Regions from separate parts of the Homo sapiens genome. Here all the other regions are linked to region 1. Evidence: promoter capture Hi-C in 16 types of primary human blood cells and fetal thymus (Javierre and others, 2016). All regions are on one chromosome and are shown on one strand. The core of a region is centred on a gene start or on the middle of the fragment in contact, and the rest is flanking DNA. Distances in the headings are between cores, read along the strand shown.

Region 1 (3,311 bases), core at 255-2,754:
GGCAGGCAGAATTGCCCACTCTTTAAATTGTCATTTTTCTTGCTTCCCTCCACCCCAGTCAAACAATAAAACTTTTGTAATTTAAATATAAATAAAACTCCACTTTTCACACATATTGTACGATTTTCTCTAGTTATAAAGCACTGCCTCATTCACCTTTTAAACGAACCACAACTACCTCAATAGAGTATTCTTTACATTCATATCTTAAAAATAGTAATTAGTTTACATAAATTTGGATACCTGAATAAACTAAATTCTTTCCTTCCAGGACTTGTCCAAGCAAAAGGCACTCTGCCTGCCATTCAAACATCTTTTTTACACCAAAACTGTGGTATTTTTCCAGAACTGCTTTAGGAAGTCCCCAGTTTGCCAATAGTAGCTTGTCTCTTTCGTAGTCAGGAACTGTAGGCTTGCATTCTCCTTTTAGGAAAAAGAAAAAATTAAAATTTAATTTACTTCTAATATATGAGTTTTACAGTTAGCCCTTCACCGTGTGTTGGAATTCCTATGTGTTGAAATGAAGCTCTTTAAAGCACATCCTGACTTCAAGAATCTTATGAGAAATTGACCATGTATAGAAAAGTAATAAATTGTTATTTACTGCATATAATAAAAATTCCTTAAAAGCCTCAAACGAACAAAAAAGCGTGCAATACACAGTAGATAAAGAGTGTTGGAATTACGGGTGTAGTTGGGGGAGGAGGGCAATATGCAAGCATTACAAAGCTAAGTTAGGTGAGTTTCTATTTATAGTAAGTTTTAGTTCCATGACGACTGCACAACTAACGATTTTAAAAAACTGGGTCGACATCCACGGGACACCCAACCAATCTCATTACGAATCCCTTCCAGCCTTCCCCTGGACGCCGAACAGCCTGTGCCGTACTCCAGGCCCAACAATCCTGTCTTAAGGGTCTGTAAGGAGTACTGGGTACTACCAGGAACGAGCCGCCCAACAGATGATGGGATGAAGCTAACTAGGAAGTTGTTTCTCTAAAGGTCGAAAGATCCAGAAGCCACGTGAACATTAATACCAGGCGATCACTGAAAACACGCGTATGTCTGAACAGAAAGTGACCTGCCACACCAGGCCCCAGTCACAGAGAAGGGGAGTAGAAGCCCAATGGGGTATGCAACGAAGCAAGTCCCGTGGGGTGAGGACACCTCCCGACCCATGGCCCGGCGGAGCTGCCCCCGTTGCCCGCGGCCTCCCGGGTTCCTGGAGCACCTGCAGCTGCGGCCTTCAGGCAGCGACCAAGGCCGGGCGGCGGGCTCAGCACGGACCCGGAGAGGAACTGGGGGCTGGCACTGCTGTCACCGCCGCTTCCCGAGAACGAATCTGAGCCTGATTCTGAACGCCGCCGTTTCCCACTCCGACGCAGAAGATTCATGGCAAACTCTTCTCGGCCGATCAGGGCAAGCCACAGTCCCAGCGTCCTCCCTCTCGGGAGAACCCTGGCCTGGCAACAGCTGCGGACATCTTCCCGCCAGTCTTCAAACTCAAACCTCCCGGCCCGCCCCGGAACCATAGAGTTCTCCGTGGCTTAAGTAACCCGAAAGCCATAGACTCGTGGGGAAGGAGCGGCTCTCGCTGGCGTCTAAGACTTCCGGCCTCCAACCTCCTGGTTGGTTAATATGAGAGATAGATTAAAGAGGAAGAATACAGAATCTACAGTTATAACCATACTGACCTAAAAGCCTTCCTTCTCCTTTTGTCCATTTCTGGTTTGAATAGGAAGGCCATGCTAACTTCATAAAATGGGCTGCCCATAATAGGTAGATCAGGGAAGTAGCTCTTCTTAACGTATTGGTATTCTGTAAAAAATTATTTCAGATTGAGAAGCATTATGCAAGATAGCCTAGGGTTTCTAATAGAGCATAATTTCCTCCTTTCTCCTAGTATATGATGGTAGGGCAGGGCTATTTCTGAACACAATTTCCATTTTAGCCAGCATGCATTGTGAGGAATATGTAATGAGGAATTGGGGATTGCTGGCTGACAGACCCCTGAGACACTATATGAACGCCGCGAGGAAGGGGCTCTGAATATACCCCAGGGATCGTTATGAGCCAAGAGCTTAGTAATGCATCTGTGTTGTCCCTTTTGTAAAGGTAGAAGCGAACGAGTTCTGAACGTAAAACGGTGACCATTCATTACCTAGTTGCATAATTCATTTCACCAAGCAAAACTAGTAGGCCCTAAGCCTGACCTGAAGAGGCTGTGCAGTTCTAGAGCACTAAAAATCTCAAAAGGTCCAGTCCAATTAAAAAAAAAAAAAACACTCGAATACAATCTGGAAAATAGCATTCGAACCATCAATTCCTTCCGTGAAAACATTTTTTTGATTTAAATGACAATATTCTAAAGTTCCACGAGATGGCGACATTACTCCGTGAATGAAACATTTTTCTCTTGGCCTTTTACGCAATCAACAACTATTTACTGAGTATCTACTGTAAGCTAGCCACTGGGTAAATGGCAGTGAAATGGCATAAAATGGTTCCTGCTCTCAAAGAGAAAGAGTCTAGAGAATAAGGCAGACATTAAACAAGTCAGTTAATGAAGTGTGCCATATGCTTGGGCAGAAATGAAGAGTACTATTAAAGAAATAAAAGAGATCTCGCCGGCCGTGGTGGCTCACGCCTGTAATCCCAGCACTTTGGGAGGCCGAGATGAGTGCATCACCTGAGGTCAGGAGCTCTAGACCAGCCTGGCCAACATGGTGAAACCCCGTCTCTACAAAAATACAAAAAATTAGCCGGGTATGATGGCGGGTGCCTGTAATCCCAGCTACTCTGGAGGCTGAGGCGGGAGAATTGCTTGAACCTGGGAGGCGGTGGTTGTAGTGAGCCGAGATCGCACCACTGCACTCCAACCTGTGCGACAAAGAAAGACTCCGTCTCAAAAAAAGAAAAAAAAAAAAAAGAGAGAGAGACCCCTAGATTGCAGCCAAGAAAGAACTTTCTCAGATGCAGTGTAACTTAAGGGTTAACAGTGCAACTCTGGAGTCAGTCAGTCTAGGTTTGAAACTTAGTAGCTGTGAGATCTTGGGCAACTTGCTTAACCCATTTTTTGTTTGTTTGTTTGTTTTGAGACGGAGTGTCCCACTCTGTCGCCCAGGCTGGAGTGCAGTGGCTTGATCTCTGCTGACTGCAACCTCTGCCTCCCAGGTTCAAGCGTTTCTCCTGCCTCAGCCTCCCAAGTAGCTGGGATTACAGGCCTGCACCACCACACCTGGCTAATTTTTGTATTTTTAGTACAGACAGGGTTTCACCATGTTGGTCAAGCTGGTCTCGAACTCCTGACC
Region 2 (3,311 bases), core at 258-2,757, 970 kb after region 1:
TTCATCTCTTTGATCTTTAAAAAGGAGGGAAAAATAACTTGTGTACTGCTTTCAAAATATTACAAATGCAAAAGCTAGTTAAGACAAAAACAATGTCGAGAATGAGCCTTGCTGGTGGCATCCGCCTGTAGTTCCAGCTAGTAGGGAGGATGCCTTGAGGCCAGGAGTTCCAGATCAGCCCGGGAAACAAAGCAAGACTCCATCTCTTAAGAAAAAAAAAAACAAAACAGGAGGGGGGAAATCACTTCATCTACTAATAGAGATTTTTAAGCAACCGTTTATTTAAGAAAAAAGGGTGAAATTCAAGTTAATATTACTTGACAGTACGTTTCAGAAAAAAAAATACTCTGCAGAGCTGGGTGTGGTTGCCCAAGACTAGTCCCAGCTACTTGGGAAGCTGAGGCAAGAGGACAGTTTGAGCTCAGGAGTTGGAGTACAGCCTGGGCAATATAGCGAGACCCCATCTCTTTAAAATACAAACAAAAACTCGGCAATCGTTTGTTCTGAGTTGAAACCTTAAAAATCAAATATTTTGAACGCTTTCATTTAAAAGTGGAACACGACCCAATCCTAAAACATTACTTCATGACGACTTCCTTGACTCCAGTCATCCTTGTTTCCTCCTCCCGTTTTGAGCTTAATCCGATACCTCGCTGCTTCCCTCGCATCGCACACGCGGCGTGCAGACCAAGTTCTGTCATTGCTATAATTACCACACCCCCGATCAGCCGCTCCAGGCCCATGTTGTTATGACATCGGTAAACTGCAGCCGGCCGTCTCCACCCCCCGCTTCCCCCACCTCCCTCCGGGCCGCCGGCTCCGACCCGGTCTGTAACTTGTGAATTCCCAAGACGGTCCCTTTTTGCCAGGGTTAGAATTTTTACACGCCACCCCTGCTCCTTCCTGCCTCTGTCACAGCGCTCTGCGCGGCCCACCCCCGCCTCCCGCCCGCCGCCCGGCCGCGGCGCAGGCTCCGCGCTCGCCTCCTCTCCGCCCGCTGCCTCGGCGCCCCGCAGTCCCCGGCGCCGCTTACAGCCCCGCCGCCGCGCCACGCCGCCCCGCCCCGCCTAGCCTCGACCGGCGTTCCCGATGGCGATCACACCAGGGCTCCCCACCCCCACCCTCTCCTCCGCCGGCCTTGTGGCCGTTAGGACAGCCGGGCCCGTGACGCACGGACGCGGCGCGAGCGTCCGGCCCAGGAACCCCGGCTCTAGGCCCTGCCGGCACCCGCCCTCGCCCCAGGGCCTCTCCTGAGTCCCTCCGGGACTGCCCGGATCTGCCGGCGGGAGGGGGAGGGGCCGGGGCCGCAAGGCCCCAGCACTCACCAGGCTCAAGGCAACCGATCCCGGTGCCACCGCTGAAGTTAGCCCCTCGCTCGCCCGCCCGCCGTGCCACTCCCGCGCACAACCTCGAAGAGCTGGCCCGCGCCTCGGCGGTGCTCACCAGGCCTCGCTCTCCGCCGCCTCGCACCGAGCAGCGAGACTCAGCTCAGCCGGCGTTCGCAGTGCGCCTGCGTGCGGGGGCCGGCCCGAGCGCCTACGCGCGCCCCTCCGGCGCTTGTCGCAGAGGCTGCCGGGAGACGTAGTCTTGTAACGCTCTCTCGCCGGACATTCCTAATGGTTAGCGCCCAGCCTGTGAAGAGTCGGGGGTCGGGGAGGGGGTCTCGCTAAGAAGGAGGTTTGCAGACCATGGCAAAGGTTGGAGAAAGTTATATGTACAAACCTGTCTTTGCTAAGCTCTTCCAGGGCGGATCGATGCTCACCTCTGTATAGCTTCTAAGTACCTAATACGCGTTGATGGAATGAATGATGGAATGATTGAAGGCTGAGGGAGTATTACAAAATTAGTAGGTCAGCGCCTCGTGTCTAAAGGGCTCACATGCAGCATGAATGCAGGAAGCTTCTGGACATTCCTTTTTTAGTTATCTCCCATCCCCTTTGCTTGATAACGTATGCGTAGTATCAAAAATAATTAAGGGCCGGGCGCGGTGGCTCACACCTGTAATCCCAGCACCTTGGGAGGCCGAGGTGGGTGGATCACTTGAGGCTAGGAGTTTTGAGACTAGCCTGGGCAACATGGCGAAACCCCGTCTCTACTAAAAACACAAAAATTAGCAGGGGGTGGTGACGGGCGCCTGAAGTCCCAGCTACTCGGGAGGCTGAGGTGGGAGAATCACCTGAGCCCGGGGTTGACGGTGAGACTGCAGTGAGCCGAGATCGCGCCACTACACTCCAGCCTGGGCAACCGGAGTGAGACCCTGCCTCAAAAATAATAATAACAATAATAATAATAATAATAATGAAACTACATGAAACACATACTCGTTTTACTCTCAACTGCTCTCAAACGAAAACTTGGAGCAAATGATTGCTAATGTTAAATTTCATGGAATTCTTTGGGGGAGCAAATGGAGTAGTGGCTTCAAAAGAAGAAAAACTGAAGCCAGCCTAGCAGGGATCACGGAATAGTAGACAGATTTAAAACACATGCCAAGAAGCAAGGTGAAAGAGATGAGGTAGATTAATACATTTATAAATGTCCCAGGGAAGAGGAGAGGAGAGAGGACCACTCTACCTGAATCCTAGGTTATGCAATGTTCATTTGTCCTGGACTTCTCTCTGCTGCATCAGCATTCTCCCGCTGATGTTGTGTTTACTAAGATCAGAGTTGAGTTTGAGCAAGGGGGCTGGGGAAAGGGAAGGTGTGTTCAACAGGAGAGACTTAAGGGCAAGTTTGCCTGACCACAGCTAGACTGAAGACAGATCACCTTATTCCAATAAGGAACTAAGACTGATTATTCAGAGCCGGTCTTCAGTCTTTGGGAAAGCTAATTTATTTCCGGTTCACCCTTATTCCTAGCTAGTCCTTGATGGTCCCATCCAAAAGTCTGGGGTATTTACTAGGGCCTCTTCTCTTTGGTGGGCCTTCTAAGCCCCATGAGACAGCCATAAGCTCTTCTCCCTGTTTCAGCCACTGCTTTCAGAGTCAGCAATCACCTTAGCTTTGGAAAAATGATGGCAAATATCAGGCTAACCTCTGGTGGCTTCCTTTTTCTTCCAGACCTTGCACTCACAAATTCTCACTTCCTTGGTAGCTCTTCAGTACATTAACGTTTTTATATTTTGTTCAGTTGTTCTCTGTAGTGGAAAGGTTGATTGAAAACAACAGTAGGCCATTGCTGGAAGTTGAATTCCTATGTATGTTACTTTTACAAAAATGTTATCATACCATACATGGTGTTTTATAAGCTACTGTCTCTCTGACAATATCATTTTATAGTTTGAGAAATTTGAAAGTATAGAACAGTATTT
Region 3 (3,311 bases), core at 553-3,052, 930 kb after region 1:
AATTAAATCCAAAGTTAGCAGAAGAATAAAAACAAGAGCAGATATCAATGTAACTGAAAACAGGAAATCAACTGAGAAAAATCAATGAAAAAACCAAAAGCTGGTTCTTTGAAAAGACCAATTAAATCATAAACCTCTAGCCAAGTAGACTAACAAAAAGACAGAGGACACAAACTCCTAATATCAGAACTCAAAGAAAGAAAATCACTACAAATCTCATGAACATTAAAAGGACAATAAAATAATACTGGCCAGGCACAGTATACTGGCTCACACCTGTAATCCCAGCACTTTGGGAGGCTGAGGCAGGCAGATCACTTGAGATCAGGAGTTCAAGACCAGTGTGGCCAACGCGGCAAAACCCCGTTTCCACTAAAAATATGAAAATTAGCCAGGTGTGGTGGCGGGCGCCTGTAATCCCAGCAACTCAGGAGGCTGAGGCACCAGAATCACCTGGACCCGGGAGGCAGAGGTTGCAGTGAGCCAAGATTGCACCACTACACTTCAGCCTAGGTAACAGCGAGACTCTGTCTCAAAAAAATAAAAATAAAAAAAGAATACTATGAACAATTCTATTTCCACAAATTTGATCACCTAGATAAAATGAACCACTTCCCTGAAAGCCACAAACTACCAAAACTCACACAAGAAACAATCTGAATAGGCCTGTATTAAAGAAACTGAACCAATCAACCTTCCAAAACAGAAAACACCAGGACTAGATGGGTTTGCTGGTGAATTTTATAAAACATTTAGGAAAGAAATTATACCCATTCTGTACCATCTCCTACACAAGATAGAAGCAGAAGGAATACTTCCTAACTCATTCAGTAGAGGCCAACATCAGAGTATTCCAAAACTTGACAAATATACATTATAACAAAACTACAGACCAACATTTTTTATGAACACAGGTGCAAAATCCTCAACAAAACATTAGCAAAACAAACCCAACAATGTATAAAACGAATCATATACCATGATCAAGTGGGATTTATCCCAGGTGTAAATTACTGGTCCAACATTTGAAAATCATTAATAAAATCCATCACATCAACAGACTAAGGAAGAAAAATCACACACCCATATCAATAGATGCAGAAGAAGCATATGAAAAAAAATCCAACACCCATTCACGATTTTAAAAATTCTCATTCCTCAACTTGACAAGGAATATCCAGAAAAAAACCTACAGCTAACATCATACTTAAATGGTATGAAACTAGAAGCTTCTCTGCTAAGATCAGGAGCAAGACAAGGAGATTTCCTCTCACTACTCCTTTTCAACATTGTATTGCAAGTCCTAATGAATGCAGTAAGACAAGAAAAGGGAAAAAGGCATGCTGATGGGAACAGAAGAAATAAAACCATCTTTTTTTCTCTGATGACACAGTCGTCCACATGGAGAATTCAAAAGAATCAATAAAAAAACCTCTGGAACTAATAAGCAATTATAGCAAGGTTACATGACAGAAGGTTAATATACAAAATTCAACTGCTTTCCTATACACCAGCAATGAATAAAGGGAATTTGAAATTAAAAAGTGTCATTTACATTACACTCCCCAAAAAACAGAATACTTAGGTATGAATCTAACAAAACATATACGAGATTTCTATGAGGAAAACTACAAAACTCTGATGAAACAAATCAAAGACCTAAATAACTGGAGAGGTATTATTCCTATCTATAAAGAAAGACTCAACATTGGCAAGATGTCAGTGCTTCCCAACTAGACCTATAGATTCAATGCAATTACAATCCCAGAAAGTTATTTTCTATCACCAAGATGATTCTAAAATGTATATGGAAAGGAAAAAGATCCAAAATAGCCAACAAAATATTGAAGGAAAAGGACAAAGTTAGAGGAATGACTCTACCCAACTTCAAGATTTATCGTAAGCAAGACAGCATGGTATTGGCAAAAGACTAGACAAACAGATCAATGAAACAGAATAGAGAGCCCAGAAATAGACCTCATAAATCTAGTACAATGATCTTCAACAAAGAAAAGGATAAAATACAATGGTGCAAAGGTAGTCTTTTCAATAAACGGTGCTGGAGTTCAACGAAACACTAACAAAATTCAACAAACAGCACATTAAAAAGATCATTCAATATGAACATGTAGGATTTACCTCAGGGATACAAGGATGGTTCAACATACGCAAATCTATGAATGTGAATCACATTAACAGAATGAAGGACAAAAACCTATGATCATCTCAATAGATGCAGAAAAAGCATGAGACAAATTTCAACATCCTTTCATAAAAACTCTCAACAAATTAGGTATAGAAAGAATTTACCTCCACACAATAAAGGCCATATATGACAAACCAACAGTTAGCATCATACTAAACAGTGAAAAGTTGAAAGCTTTTCCTCTAAGATCAGAAACAAGACAAGGATGCCCACTCTTGCCATCTTCACTCAATATGGTGTTGGAAGTCCTAGCCAGAGCAATTAGGCAAGAGAAAGAAATAAAAGGCATCTAAATTAAAAAGGAAGAAATGAAATTGTCCCTGATTGCTGAAGACATATCTTACATGGAAAGAACTCTGAAGACTCCGCCAATAAACTGTTAGAAATAATACATGGATTCAGGAAAGTTGTAGGATATAAAATCAATAAACAAAAACGTGTAGCATTTCCATACACTAACAACAAACTATCTGAAAAAGAAATTAAGAAAACAATCCCATTTACAATGGCTACAAAAATAAAATAAAATACTTAGGAATAAATTTAGCCAAGGAGGTGAAAGACCTGTACATTAAAAACTACATAAAACACAGATGAAACAAATTGAAATAAATGAATGGAAAGATATTCTTATGTTCATGAATTAGAAGAACAGTATTAACATGTTCATACTAACCAAAGCTATCTACAGATTCAATGTAACTTCCATCAAAATTCCAATGACATTTCTCACAGAAATTTTTTAAAATCCTAAAATTCATATGGACCTACAAAAGACCCCAAATAGCCAAAGCAATCTGGAGCAAAAATGAACAGAGGAGGAGGCTTCACACTGACTGATTTCAAAATACAATTGACCCTTAAATGACACAGGCGTTAGGGAAGCCAATCCCCTACGCAGTCAAAAACCTACATATAACTTTTAACTCCCCCACAGCCTAACTACAAATATGCTACCATTGACTGGAAGCCTTATCAATGACTTAAACACTAAATTAACACATTTTGCATGATATATGTATTATATGCTGTATTTTTTACAATAAAGTAAGCTACAGAAAAGAAAATGTTATTTAGAAAATCATAAGGAAGAGAAAATATAGTT
Region 4 (3,311 bases), core at 409-2,908, 910 kb after region 1:
TTGCCCTGGCTGGTCTCGAGCTCCTGGGCTCAAGCAAGCTGCCCACTTCAGCCTCCCAAGTGCTGGAATTACAGGCAGGAACCACAGCACCTGGCCTACTTTCAACACTTGAAATTTCTACAAGAAAAAACCTCTATCAGTAACTGCTTACATGGTCTAAAAAAGTACATATACAGGGCTTAAAGAATGTCAGGTTTGGAAGGGGAAGATTATTTTATGTGTCTAAGAGAAATTCTGCCTACAGTCACTAAGAAATTTTCTATTTGGTTAAGACTAAATTTCTAGAACACTCCTTTGTGACAATCCATAGATTACCAAAGCCAACTGGTGAAACTCAGCCCCTTATTATGTTGGGAAATTTTGTGGTTTTTTTTGTTTTTCTTTTTTTGTTTGTTTTGTTTTTTTTGAGACAAAGTCTTGCTCTCGTCACCCAGGCTGGAGTGCAATGACGCGATCTCGGCTCACTGTAACCTCCACCTCTCGGGTTCAAGCAATTCTCCTGCCTCAGCCTCCCAAGTAGCTGGGATTACAGACACGTACCACCATGCCCGGCTAATTTTTGTATTTTTAGTAGAGACGGGATTTCACCATGTTGGCTAGGCTGGTCTCGAACTCCTCGTGATCCACCCACCTTGGCCTCCCAAAATGTTGGGATTACAGGAGTGAGCGACATGCCCAGCCAAAAACTTTCTTTCACCTGCTTCTTTTTGTTTCATTTTTACCTGTTCCTGGACATCTTCAAACTCTGAGCTGAGCAACTCTATGAAGATGGGCACAGCTCCTGCCTGAATCACAATTCGGGTCTGAAGAGAATTTCCTGAAGCAATATTTGTCAGTACCCAAGCTGATTCAAACTATAAAGATAAAAATAATTTTCATTATCTTTTTAGAATGTAAAAGTTTGTTTACTTATAACAGTAACATTTTCTGTACATGAAAAAAAGATTCTGAGATCATTATTTGCACATAACCTATCAGTTGAGTACTATATTAATTTTAAAAGAAGAATATCCAGAAGAAATACCTCAACCTAGAAGAATATTCAGGGTGTCTAAAATTTCAGTTCAAGAAAGAGTAAACATGACACCATAAAAAGAATGAGAGAGTGTTACATATGCTGATATGGTATGATCTCCCAAGATATAAATGAAAACAAAATGCAAACAGTGTACATTAATATGGCATTATACCATATTTTCTAAAAGCGTTAAAAAGGAATATATGCATTAATTTACTTATTGCACAGATTATCTTCAGAATGAGTTAGAGGAAACTAAATACTTGTTGCCTGCATAGAAAGGTGATGGTAACTAGGGAATAAGGATGAAAAAGATACTTTTCACTGGAAAGCTTTATGTGCCTTTTAGCCTGTACCATGTATGTTATCTAATAAAAAAGATTTAAAAACTTCTGTAGAATGGGCAAAGTAAAATGGGGGGAGAATGTTAGTGTGAAACATAAAATACAGGCACAGTGAAAAAGGCAAAAGGTATCAAATGATAAGTAGGTGAAAGGAGTTAACAGCACATAATGAAAAGAAATGACAACTTCAAAGAATAAGAGCTTCCAATAAATGAGAGAGCTCCAAACCAAAATACAGAGATAGGACTTTTTGGGCATTCTTAATAGGGAGGGAAAAATGAAGGTAAACTGACTAAAGGTTGATATATAGCATTACAGCACTGGTAAACAGAAGATATAAAGGAAATTATGGCCAACAAAAAATAGAGCATATTACTAAAATATATCTCTAACACTAACTTGACTCTTTAGCTTAATATTGAGAAATCCAATAATGAACTCTTTTCTATTTAGTTAAGAGTTCTTAATTACATTTCAGGTTGTTTCTTCCACCATTCTGTCTTCTATTTAATAAAGCACATACACAGAAAAAAAGAAAAATTCCATGGCATGTCCTTTAAATCAGAGAAAATAACAAGTCGTCATCAAATGACCTGTGATTCTTCTAAGCTTCCAGATTAACTAAAAGGTAGCTGTCAGGTAGAAAACTAAATTCATTAATCTTTGGGAATAGAGGAAGACAGGAAAATGGGCCATCTGATCAAATCACGTTCAAAGCCATGTTAGTGATAGAAAATTCATAGCAGAAGACACATAACCAATGGATGTTCCAAAGAAAACTATAAAAGTGACATACATGAGTGAGGTAAGGTGGTTTAGTAGCAGCAGGGAGGCCCAGAGTAGGAGTACTTCGGTTAAAGAGCCCGTATCTGGTCCCTTTTTGTTATAACAAAAATTCTGGGGACTTACAGATTAAACCCCAGATATCATGAAATAAAAATTCTTCCCATATTTATCTCTATGATTAAATTACTAATGAAAGCAACACTCAGTCCCTTTCAGTACGTCTGAATTAAAACTTGACATTTGTACCGTACTTTATATTTTCTTTTTTTTCTTTTTTGAGACAGAGTCTCAGTCTTGTTGCCCAGGCTGGAGTGCAATGTCACGTTCTCAGCTCACTGCAACCTCCACCTCCCGGATTCAAGTGATTCTCCTGCCTCAGCCTCCCAAGTAGCTGGGATTACAGGCATGTGCCACCACGCCCGGCTAATTTTTATATTTTTAGTAGAGACGAGGTTTCATCATGTTTGTCAGGCTGGCCTTGAACTCCTGATCTCAAGTCATCCTCCCATCTAGGCCTCCCAAAGTGCTGGGATTACAAGCATGAGCCACCGCACCCGGCCACTTTATATTTTCAAAGTACTATTCACATACTCGCAGATGATCCCTACAACAACCCAGAGATGTAAAGTATCTGGCTTTTCTTGTGTACAAATGAGGAAACTATCTGAAAAAAAATCCAACAATTTGACTAATGACTCGAGTAATGTTACACAGTCAAAGACAAGGACTAAGTTACAGCCTCCTAATCTAATACATTACGAAGCCCAGTCATAGTTTCCTGAAACATAATGCTGACCCAGAAATATTTCATTTGCTTGTAGTTTGGATATCTAGTTCAAGAAATTTTAAATAACAGTATGCCAGATTATTTATACTAAAAAAGAAAAAACAAGTTCACCTAAGATGTAGTTTCTTTTGCTTACTAGGAAAATTAATTTGTAAACCAGAGTCATATGATGTAAGTATAAAAGCAAACTGTCCCACCACAAGGCAGGCTCAAAGTTCAATAAACAGTCATCAGATACTGCAAACATAAAGTCAAATAAATGAAAACTCTAAGGAAAAGCAATCTGGAAAAAAAATAAGATCAGAATACATACCATCTGTATACAAGAAAAAGATTACAGTGAGATTTGGATGCAAAAGAAATTATAATAATAACC
Region 5 (3,311 bases), core at 549-3,048, 890 kb after region 1:
GCACAAAAACAGTCAACTGATCTTTAACAGAATAGCAAAGGCAATTAAATGGAGAAAGGATTCCACCTTTTCAACAGTGCTAAAACAACTGAACATCCATACAGAAAAATAATGAACCTAGACACAGGCCTTACTTTGTGTCACTCGTGAGCTTAGACAGGCCAAGTCTTCCCAATACCCAAGACTGAGGCTTTCATCCCAGTATTCACCAGTCGATTACTTAATCATCCTTGTGAAAGAACGACCTATAGCAAGACTGACCTGCCACCTCCAAAAACACTGCATTCTCTCACTTTTCCTCATGCTATTCTCCCCTCCAAAACTGCCAATTCTCTATACAAATAGTAAGTTTCACTTCTTTGATGAATGTTTCTCTAATTTCAGTTAATAATCCTTATCCTTCATTAAGAACATGTGTTATATATGTATTAACATTTGATTATATTCAACCTAAAATTCTAGATGTTTCCTAAAACATTCTTTTTTATCTTTTGAGACAGAGTCTCTCACTCTGTCTCCGAGGGTGGAGTGCAGTGGCACGATCTTGTCTCACTGCAACCAACCTCTGCCTCCTGGGTTCAAGCCATTTTCCCACCTCAGCCTCCCAAGTAGCTGGAACTACAGGAGAACACCAACACGCCCAGCTAATTTTTGTAGAGACAAGGTTTCTCCATGTTAGCTAGGCTGGTCTCGAACTCCTGACCTCAAGTGATTTGCTTGCCTTGTCCTCCCAAAGTGCTGGAATTACAGACATGAGCCACCACACCCGGCCAAGATATTTCCTAAAATATTCTAATTGTTTCTTGCATCCAAATCTGGTATCTGCAACAAGAAGCAGCAGAAGCCAGATAGATGTCTTTTATAAGTGATAAAGTCAGTTTGTTTTTTGTAATTTGGACTGTAATATTTTTGTGACATTCTTTCAAGATAACTCTTCATGTGGGGAAGAAGAAACTGCTAGGAGGTTGGTAATTAATTTTATTATAAATAGCTATGCTGAATTTTAAAAAGGGACAGCAGCAATTCTGCGCTTCTCTAACAGAGCAAAATACTCCTGAATACTTTCTCATGAAAGATGGCATAATAAAATATATATGTTTATGGTTTATTTCTTCTTCTTCTTTTTTTTTTTTTGTTGAAATGGAGTCTCACTCTGTCACCCAGGCTGGAGTGCAGTGGCATGATCTCAGCTCACTGCAACCTCTGCCTCCCGGGTTCAAGCGATTCTCCAGTCTCAGCCCCACAAGTAGCTGGGATTACGGGTGCACGCCACCACACCTGGCTAATTTTTGTACTTTTAGTAGACACGGGGTTTCACCCTGTTGGCCAGGCTGGTCTCGAACTCCTGACCTTGTGATCCACCTGCCTTGGCCTCCCAAAGTGGTGGGATTACAGACATGAGCCGCTGCACCCGGCCTGGCTTATTTCAATTAAGAAAATATATTTGCTATAAAATATAGAGACAATTAATAACTATAAATGTGAATTTGAACATAAAGCTTATTCAAATAACTATAGTACTTCATTATTTTTACCATCTGGTGACAGCATAATTAAAATCATAGTACTCTAGAATCAGAATTTTGGAGGTTGGAAAAAACCTACAAGACAAATGTGCTTCTGTCTCCCTGAAATAACCTGCCCATGATGAACTTCACCAAAATAGCTACTGCATATGTTAATCTGTTTGTAATTTTATTCTTTCAGGTACATATTTCTTATTTTCTCTACCTGATAAATTTCTGTACTTTGTTACTATTTTTATTTTTTAATTCCAAACAGAACACTCAAAACTAGCATCTGATGAATGCCTACATTCAGTCCACAAAGCAACAATGTAAGTAGTAGCTATGTTTGTCTGATATTACGTATGAGTAAGGAGTTAATGCTTTAGCACTCATTTGAAACCATCTTTCCTTAATTTTGGATTCCCCATAAAGTTAAGACTGGCTGAGTCTAGGCTAGGCTCCATTTTTCTCTTCATCATTACTTTTTTTCCCTATCTGAAATACTAGATGTCCTGAATTTTGCATTTAATTATATGATGCTCCTTTGAAGAACTGATTCCCATCCATATTTATGTTTTCTTCCACTCATTAAGCTTATAAGCTGCTCGTCGGGCATGATGGCTCACACCTGTAATTCCAGCACTCTGGGAGGCCAAGGCAGGTGGATCGCCGGAGCTCCGGAATTCAAGATCAGCCTGGCCAACAGGGGAAAACTCCGTTTCTACTAAAAATACAAAAATTAGCTGGGTGTGGTGGCACTCACCTGTAATCCTAGCTACTAGGAAGGCTGAGGCAGGAGAATCGCTTGAACCCAGGAGGCGGAGGTTGCAGTGAGCCGACAGTGCCACTGCACTCCAGCCTGGGCAACAGAGAGACTCCATCTCAATCAGTCAATCACTAAGCTGCTACCAAGGGAGCCATTTAAGTCTTGAGCTGCTACAGCTCCTCCCTTTAACAAGAATACCATAGTACTTTAGAAGATACCTGCCTCTACTAAATTTGGCACTTCATTCTCAGACATACCACTCTTTCAATTCTGATCCAATTCTACTATTAAGACATCTAAACTAAAAAGGGCAAGAGTGAGTTATTAAACTTGGGCTCAAGTTCTACAAGTAACCTATATTACCCAAGATATTTCTGACAAGTAGCTCCAGAGTAGGTTGAAGCAAGGATTTCTATTGCCTCAAGCCTCGACTATGCCTACTTCTTATATCCCAGGATTGTTTTTCAGCAAAAAGAAATGGGAGAGTTATAAAGAATTAAATACACATCTAATTATGACACCAAGGACAATTTCCTAAGGACTGGAACTAAACATTCTTATTTGGTAAGATCGTCTCTCACTTACTTTTCCCCTCAAAGGCAGCTAATCTTTTACTCTAGGTAATATGTGGGAGGTTATAAAGTGATAGACACAATAATAATTTTTCTTTAACTTACAATATGCTGCCTGATTGGTACTTACTTGATCTGTTCAGCTGATCCTCCAGAAGTTGCATTTGTGATGGCCCAAGCTGCTTCTTTTCTTGTCCGAAATTCAGCAGTTTGTAAAATACTAATGAGGGCTGGGAAAATGTTGGCATCTATCACAGTCTAAAATTAAAGAAAAACTTAAATGGAAAAAACTGTGAGATTTATAAAAATATTCATGATACTAATTATAATTTCTAAGCTAGTTTGACTATTAACACCCCTTCTCCTGTCAGAAATAAATTGAAAAGAGTTATGTCATTATCTCTAACCTTTTTTTTTCTTTTTTGAGATGGAGTCTCACTCTGTTGCCCAGGCTGGAGTGCAGTG
Region 6 (3,311 bases), core at 571-3,070, 870 kb after region 1:
TTGGGTGAGGGTATACTAAGCCCAGATTTCACCACTATGCAATATATCCCTGTAATAAAAGTGACATAAATCCATAAAAATTACAAAAAGTTGCTCAAAAAAGATTGGTAGTCAGAAGCTGAATTCTAGATGTGCTTTTTCAACTATCTCATTTTGTAAATGTAGTGTATGAATCTCAAAATTTAACAATAGACAATTTTTAAAATACCAAACTGCCAAAATTAAAAGAAACCGTCTTTTTAAATATCCAAGTTTTTTGGCCAACTTGGCTCTACTACTTGATTTTCAAAGGGATTAGTGGTTACTCATCCACAGTTTAATTGTTTTGTCATTTTCTAATGCTGCTGATGCGATGAGGTTTTCTGTAGGATGACAAGCTGCTGAGATCACAACATCTGTATGGCCTTGTAATTTCTGCACAATCTCTTTAGTCTGAAGGTTCCAAATGTAAACCAGGTTATCCTCGGAACCAGACACAATCCACTTTCCACCAGTAACTGAAAAATTGGCAAATATGCAATATTTCTCATTCTTATGACCAGTGTATGTTTTCAGGCACCTGCCTCTGCTATAATCCCATAGTTTAAGAGTGTTGTCCAAAGTTGCAGTGAGAATGTATTTACCATTTGGAGAAAATTTTACAAAAGAGACAGGAGGGTTATCGTCATCAACGAGCGTTTTTAAACACTGACCTGATGCAGCATCCCAGATTCTACAGAGGCCATCATAGCTACCTGACACTATCAAGGACCCACTACAATTAAAATGAACAGCAGAAACTGGGTCAGAATGAGCAGACAAAGTCTTGAGACACTTTCCTGTTTTCACCTCCCATATTTTTACAGTCTCATCAAAAGATCCCGAGATTATAAGGTTGGATGGCGGATTGAAGTTACAACAAAAGACATAATTACTGTGCCCCTTCAGTGTTTTCAAACATTTTCCAGATCTCACATCCCATAATTTTAGAGTTTTATCATCTGAGGCAGAAACAAGACGACTGGAATCTGATGACCAGGCAACATCCGATATTTCCAAATTATGACCATAGAGTGTTTTCTCATATTTTCCATCATATGCTCCCCAAATTATGATTAGCCTATCAGCAGAAGAACTTGCTAGCCATTCTCCATTAGGACTAAACTTAACTGATGACACTGCTTCCGTGTGTCCCACAAGAGTACATTTGAGAGCATAGTTTGGGTTTTCAGGCACTTCCTTGCTCTGATTGGCCGATGAGGAGAGGGCCAACTGTGCTTTGGCGTCTCTTGACTCCTTGGTTGCCATGGCTCTGAAGCTCCAAGTTAGCAGGTGTACTAGGCGTTCAGCCCTGAACCAGGCAGTCCAGTACTTTGGCTTTCTGCCCAGCAAAATGAAGATAAACGCACAGGATTTTAAAATGTACAGTTTTGAAAGCTTAAAGTTTCTGGACAGTCTTTAAACTGTGAGACGGAATCAGCAGCACGGCTTGGACTTCAAGTTTTCATCTTTTTGTTAAGTACTTGAGAAATACTGTTAGAAGGATCCTGTGCGCTGTCAGCAAGTAGGACACAAATGTTCGGCATTCCGTTAATACATAAAGCCTTCAAAGCAGGGGCGACGCGAGGGGCACTCTCTACAGAAAGTATTCTTTCACCGCCGCCCCCCTCCCCAGGTCGAAATGTTTCGGAATGCTGAGCAGCCCTACCAGTCAGGCTAGGTACTTGAAGATGAATGAACCGCCGCTTTTAGCGGATTTCAGAAGCTAAAAGCCTACGAAGCCACCGAAACTGGAAACTCTGGCCTGTCGGCTACTTTTGCTCGTACCAGCAGGTGTGCACTGCCGCGTCAATCTCCAACAAAGCCGGAAAAGCAGCCTGGCGCATGTGCAAAGGAAGTCCCTCCTACCACTACCGAGCCGAGATGACCAATGGGAGACGGCCATCTGCGCCTGCGCAAAAAAGTCGCCAATGTTCATTTCCGGTCTTTTTCGCCCCGCCCTTCAAATGCGAAAGCGACTGCCTTCTTGGGTGAGTGCATTAGCTGGGTAGGGTCTGTCCCGGACCTAACTGGATAGTGTGGGAAGCAGTGGATCGTTGTTTCAAAAACCATTTCTTTTTGGAAATTGTCACAGAGAAGGACTAGATTTGCGGATGCCTACCTTAGCTGCAGGCTTAGGCCCACACCTGACGCGTAAGCTGCCTAAACGGCAGCTAACGTAGATCCACCCAGACGCCGGAAACGGGGGAAGCTCCTGCTTTGCATGGGTTCCGCTCCCTCCTGTTTGTTGTGGTGTGGAGCCAGGTGGCATGTGTGGCGATGGAGTCACGGGGCGGGTGACAGAATTTATGCCAGATTGTAAAATTCCTGGTTTAAGTTTCCCCTGGAAAAGTTTCGTAAAGGTTAAGAAACGTGTCTGTTGAGGTCCTTTAAAAGCCGGTGCTCTGCTGGGAGTAACGAGCAAACGTTTGTTTTAGCATCTACGGCTTAAGCTTCCATAGAGAAGTCGGTATCTCAAAGTTGCTTGAAACAGAAAAGGACAAAGAGGTTGGTGGAATAGGGTAACGGATAAGGTTACTCTTAAGGAGGTTTTAGAGAGCTTTCCCCAGTTTTAGGAGATGATTAATGGTCATGAAAGTGTGTAAAATATACATGCTATTGAAGTTGCAACGAAAGACATAATTACTGTGCCCCTTTAGTGTTTTCAAACATTTTCCAGATCTCACATCCTATAATTTTAGAGTTTTATCATCTGAGGCAGAAACAAGACGACTGGAATCTGATGACCAGGCAGACTTTTAAACAATAGGTTTACCAAAAAACTGGAAGCCCTACTAGTTTCTCCAACCTGTTGTTGCTCAGTAAAGAGTGCCCGAGGCCGAGCACTCACGCCTGTAATCCCAGCACTTTGGGAGGCCCAGTCGGGCGGGACACTTTAGGTCGGGTGTCCGAGACCAGCCTGACCAACATGGCGCAACCAATACTGCTAAAAATACAAAAATTAGCTGCGCGTGATGGCGCACGCCTGTAGTCCCAGCTACTCAGGAGGCTGAGGTGGGAGAATGGCATGAACCAGGAGGTGGAGGGTGCAGTAAGCTGAGATTCCACCAGTGCACTCCAGCCTGGGCAACAGTGAGACTCCGTCTCAAAAAAAAAAAAAAAAAGAGTGCCCAAGAAAAGCAGAAAAAACGTGGCTTAAAAGATTTTACTGGTGGCTGGTCACGATGCAAATGTCTCATCAGCGTCAAGAATTTAAAAGCACTTGGAAACAATGGGTATCCTATTGTATACTTATTAGGGATAATTGAAAGTCTTGGCCTTTATAAGGCACA
Region 7 (3,311 bases), core at 527-3,026, 840 kb after region 1:
AAGCAAACACTTCTTCCACTAAAATCCTCAATACTATGATTTCATTGATTTTGTCAGTTTTGTTGAACTAATTCACCTAAAATATCTTCTGTACATCCTATTAACATTATGAAGCTTTTCAACAAGGCAAGTGAAAGGATCATTGCTCTGTAAAAAAGTTAAAATGGACTGCATGAAAAGAACTTTGACATCTTGGAACTACTTTGACATCTTTGAACTAATACTGAGTATATTGTAAGTAGTTCATCTTCTTGCTTTGAGAATATATTTATGCATCTTGCATAAATATATTTTTGCATCTCTGCAAACTTCTGATGTGTAAAAACTTCACTATTGACCACTTAACCAAAGCAGAATTCCTTGAGTGATTTAAGAACAATTTATTTTACTTCAGATATAAAATTTTTAATAGCACACTAAGGATGTTATATGAGCAGCTCTCTCCATATGATCTTCCACGAATGTCTGATGCTTTGTGAGCAACTCCGCAACAACCTACTACCTTTCACCCACTTCATAGCTAAATACTTTCATATACATTATTTTGTTGGATGGATTTCTCATAGCAGCCCTCTCAGGTAAGTCTTATTCCTCCCACACTTTATAAATGAAGAAACATAGGTCAGAGATGACTTGTCCAGGATCTCTTTGCCAAAAAATGTTAGAGCCAGGAGAGGGTACCCTTTAATTCTGGAATTTTTGTGCTTTTTGCTGTTGTTCAAGCTGTTCATTCAGGGGCTGTGCGTGTGTGAATTTGTCATGACTAATTGGATCTCATTAATCTGAAATGGAAGAGTCATGAAATGCAGATTTAGTTCTGAAATGAAAGTACACCTTCATGTGCAAATGGCTTTTCAAGAAAGAAGACTGCTTTAATAAGCAGCCTTAGCCAAAGGAATGAAAGATCAAATAGAAATGTAGGCTCAATGTGGTGGCTCACACCTGCTATCCCAGCACTTTGGGAGGCTGATACTGGAGGATTGCTTGAGACCAGGAGTTTGAGACCAGCCTGGCTAACTTAGCAAGACCCTGTCTCTACAAAAAAAACTTTTAAAAATTAGCTGGGCATGGTGGCTCAAACCCATAGTCTCAGCTACTCAGGAGGCTGAGGCAAGAGGATCACTTGAGCCCAGAAGTTTGAGGCTGCATTGAGCTATAATACGATCATGCTACCACATTCCAATCTGGACAACAGAGTGAGACCCTGTCTAAAAAAAAAAAAAAAAAAGAAAAGAAGCATAATCTAGGCATACCTTACTTATCCAGAATATTTGGAATAAGATTCTCTAGGTAAGTGAAATTTCAGATGATCAAAACTTAACCTTATAAATGATGGACCTTTACTTTTGTTTCTGTTGGAAATCTTTGGTATACTCCCTTAGCAAACAATATAGCAAACATAATGTAGGCTTTTATGAGCTCGAATTTGTTGTTTTGTAGATGTAGTTGTAGATACAGATCAGGGTTGTTAACTTGTGGTACTGGACACCTCCACATTTGAGAGGTCCTGTGAACTTCTCAAATTTTTATGATTGTATACCATTTTTGAGAGAGAGGGTCCATATTTTATATCTGCTACTCAGAGCAGTTCATGCTCTTTAAGTTAAAAAGCACTGATACAGATGATTAGGAACTAAATGGCCATTTACCCACACTACGCTGGGTTTCATAAGGGTAAACACTGGCTCTGTTTTGTTTTTACTCAGTCCTTACCACTTATTGGTGTTCAGTTCATAGTAGACAGGCAATACATATTTTTTGGATGAAGGATGCTAGGAAATATCTTGGAACATGCTGCAAATGTAAGGTGAGTTTTCACACCTGTTTTCTCCTGAAAGAATAAAATAGATATAACTTTTAGGATATTGTATCTTTCCACAGAATGATTATTAGTTCAAAGGAATGGAATGACCTTACAAGAATGTTTCTTATTGAAAGAAAGTTTTGCTCCCCTAAACTCTGTTGACTGGTCAGATTTGAAAATGAATTTGTTACCGTCATTGTTACCAATGTAATGGACTATGGGCTGCCTTCCTTTTAGTTTAACCCACATCTCAGAGCATTAGAGTAGAGAGGTATCTTAGAAGTCAGGTAATTTAGTCCTCTAATTTTTACAGATGAGGAAACTTAAGGGCCAAGAAGGGAATCAGCTTGCCAAGGACCACACAGGTACAGACCTGGGACATAGCCAGTATCCCCTGGCTCCCATTCTGATTTTATTTCTACCACATTCTGCTACCTTATTCTTTTTGTTTGTTCTTGCTAACCAAACCTAAATGAGAACGTACGCATTTTAACTACCCCCACATTTGGCTTTACTTATTGCTCCTTTCCAGGTCTTGCCAAGTATTTATTGAGTACACAATGGATGCCCTGTGTGTATACTGTGAAGGCTCTAAAATGAATGGACTGCCCCACTCCTAGGGCTGATTTATTGCAATGAACAAACAAACATATATAATATACCATTGGCTTCAAGAATTCTGAGATTCTTGAAGGCTCCATTGAAATGAAGGGGTGTGAGAGTGATGTGAGCACATGTAGGGGCGGTAATGAGTTGTGAGCACATGTAGGGGCGGTAATGAGTCTGAAAAAGGATATGAGAGAGGAAAGATTACCTTAGGGATTTTGATCAGGAGGCAATAGGAGGTAAAGTGTAGTGTTTGGAGACGTTTGAACCAAATGAATTTGGACCAAAAAAACCTTTTAGCAGGAGAAGTAACACAAGAAACATTTCTGGAAAATTAACTCAGCAACTACATACCAGTTGAATTGCTGCTACCTATGAAGATATTACAGTAACTGATGTGTGAGGTGATGATGGAAATAACGAATATATTTAGGAAGTGTCTTGAAGAAAGGATGAGTTTGGAGATACTGAGTAAGGAAGGACTTAAAGACAAGTTTTTTAATGTTGAGGACTACAGAAGTATTGCCTCATTGTCAGAAATAAGAAAGTTGGAAAAATAATCAGAAACGCCATCAAAGATTTGTGTTAGTTTGGCAGAGAAGATGGTGCATTATTGAGTAGGTTTAGGTGGCACTGAGTTATAGGTTGTGAGAGGTTGAAGACCTGAGGGCAAAGGAAGAGTAAAGTTATGGAGATAAAGATATGGGAGCAATTAGTCTGGAGTTGATTTTTAAAACAGAATGGAGGAGTCCTTCCAGAGAGTAGCACAGAATAGAAGCAAGGACTAAGCCTTGGAGGTGTGACATGGTGTAAATAATAGGAACTGGGAAAGAAGACATTAAAGAAGATTGGTCATAGAGGTTGGAGATGAAGTGAGAGAATTTGGTGGTACAATGTAAGG

Evidence for each region. The method cuts DNA at HindIII sites, captures the fragments that hold promoters and counts their contacts. A CHiCAGO score of 5 or more calls a contact.
Region 2: the fragment with the promoter of KPNA1 here is called in contact with the fragment with the promoter of POLQ in region 1 in 5 of 17 cell types (naive CD4 T cells, total CD8 T cells, total CD4 T cells and 2 more); the score reaches 8.0 in naive CD4 T cells.
Region 3: a fragment that was not itself captured here is called in contact with the fragment with the promoter of POLQ in region 1 in 1 of 17 cell types (naive B cells); the score reaches 5.1 in naive B cells.
Region 4: a fragment that was not itself captured here is called in contact with the fragment with the promoter of POLQ in region 1 in 1 of 17 cell types (monocytes); the score reaches 5.3 in monocytes.
Region 5: a contact is called between a fragment that was not itself captured here and the fragment with the promoter of POLQ in region 1, in 1 of 17 cell types (monocytes). The highest score is 5.4, in monocytes.
Region 6: a contact is called between the fragment with the promoter of WDR5B here and the fragment with the promoter of POLQ in region 1, in 9 of 17 cell types (fetal thymus, naive CD8 T cells, neutrophils and 6 more). The highest score is 10.9, in fetal thymus.
Region 7: a fragment that was not itself captured here is called in contact with the fragment with the promoter of POLQ in region 1 in 4 of 17 cell types (fetal thymus, total CD8 T cells, non-activated CD4 T cells and 1 more); the score reaches 7.8 in fetal thymus.

Annotation. Positions count from the first base shown.
Region 1 is chr3:121,544,484-121,547,794 of GRCh38, forward strand. It overlaps POLQ (DNA polymerase theta), which reads right to left and starts at 1,505. Exons shown (of 30, transcript NM_199420.4): 1 at 1,232-1,505; 2 at 244-423. The coding sequence starts at 1,394. RefSeq lists enhancers at 1,238-1,467, 1,359-1,653. The HindIII fragment of the contact is 11,524 bases long and covers 1-3,311 here.
Region 2 is chr3:122,513,432-122,516,742 of GRCh38, forward strand. It overlaps KPNA1 (karyopherin subunit alpha 1), which reads right to left and starts at 1,508. Exons shown (of 14, transcript NM_002264.4): 1 at 1,326-1,508. It overlaps LOC107984000 (a long non-coding RNA gene), which reads left to right and starts at 1,598. Exons shown (of 2, transcript XR_924403.3): 1 at 1,598-1,697. RefSeq lists a silencer at 786-1,475. The HindIII fragment of the contact is 3,104 bases long and covers 1-1,897 here.
Region 3 is chr3:122,472,545-122,475,855 of GRCh38, forward strand. All of the region lies in intron 2 of KPNA1 (karyopherin subunit alpha 1), which reads right to left. Among named protein-coding and RNA genes, the nearest start is that of KPNA1, 41 kb to the right of the region's middle. The HindIII fragment of the contact is 1,151 bases long and covers 1,228-2,378 here.
Region 4 is chr3:122,453,148-122,456,458 of GRCh38, forward strand. KPNA1 (karyopherin subunit alpha 1) reads right to left here. Exons shown (of 14, transcript NM_002264.4): 6 at 723-854. Among named protein-coding and RNA genes, the nearest start is that of WDR5B-DT, 39 kb to the left of the region's middle. The HindIII fragment of the contact is 621 bases long and covers 1,349-1,969 here.
Region 5 is chr3:122,430,685-122,433,995 of GRCh38, forward strand. It overlaps KPNA1 (karyopherin subunit alpha 1), which reads right to left. Exons shown (of 14, transcript NM_002264.4): 12 at 2,977-3,104. WDR5B-DT (WDR5B divergent transcript) reads left to right here. Exons shown (of 3, transcript NR_125405.1): 2 at 1,783-1,837. Among named protein-coding and RNA genes, the nearest start is that of WDR5B-DT, 16 kb to the left of the region's middle. The HindIII fragment of the contact is 602 bases long and covers 1,498-2,099 here.
Region 6 is chr3:122,414,242-122,417,552 of GRCh38, forward strand. It overlaps WDR5B (WD repeat domain 5B), which reads right to left and starts at 1,821. Exons shown (of 1, transcript NM_019069.4): 1 at 1-1,821. The coding sequence starts at 1,287. The coding sequence ends at 295. It overlaps WDR5B-DT (WDR5B divergent transcript), which reads left to right and starts at 1,965. Exons shown (of 3, transcript NR_125405.1): 1 at 1,965-2,009. RefSeq lists enhancers at 1,366-1,565, 1,801-2,618, 1,836-2,075, 2,106-2,155, 2,316-2,515 and 1 more. The HindIII fragment of the contact is 1,055 bases long and covers 1,415-2,469 here.
Region 7 is chr3:122,385,347-122,388,657 of GRCh38, forward strand. All of the region lies in intron 1 of FAM162A (family with sequence similarity 162 member A), which reads left to right. Among named protein-coding and RNA genes, the nearest start is that of FAM162A, 2.8 kb to the left of the region's middle. The HindIII fragment of the contact is 3,328 bases long and covers 113-3,311 here.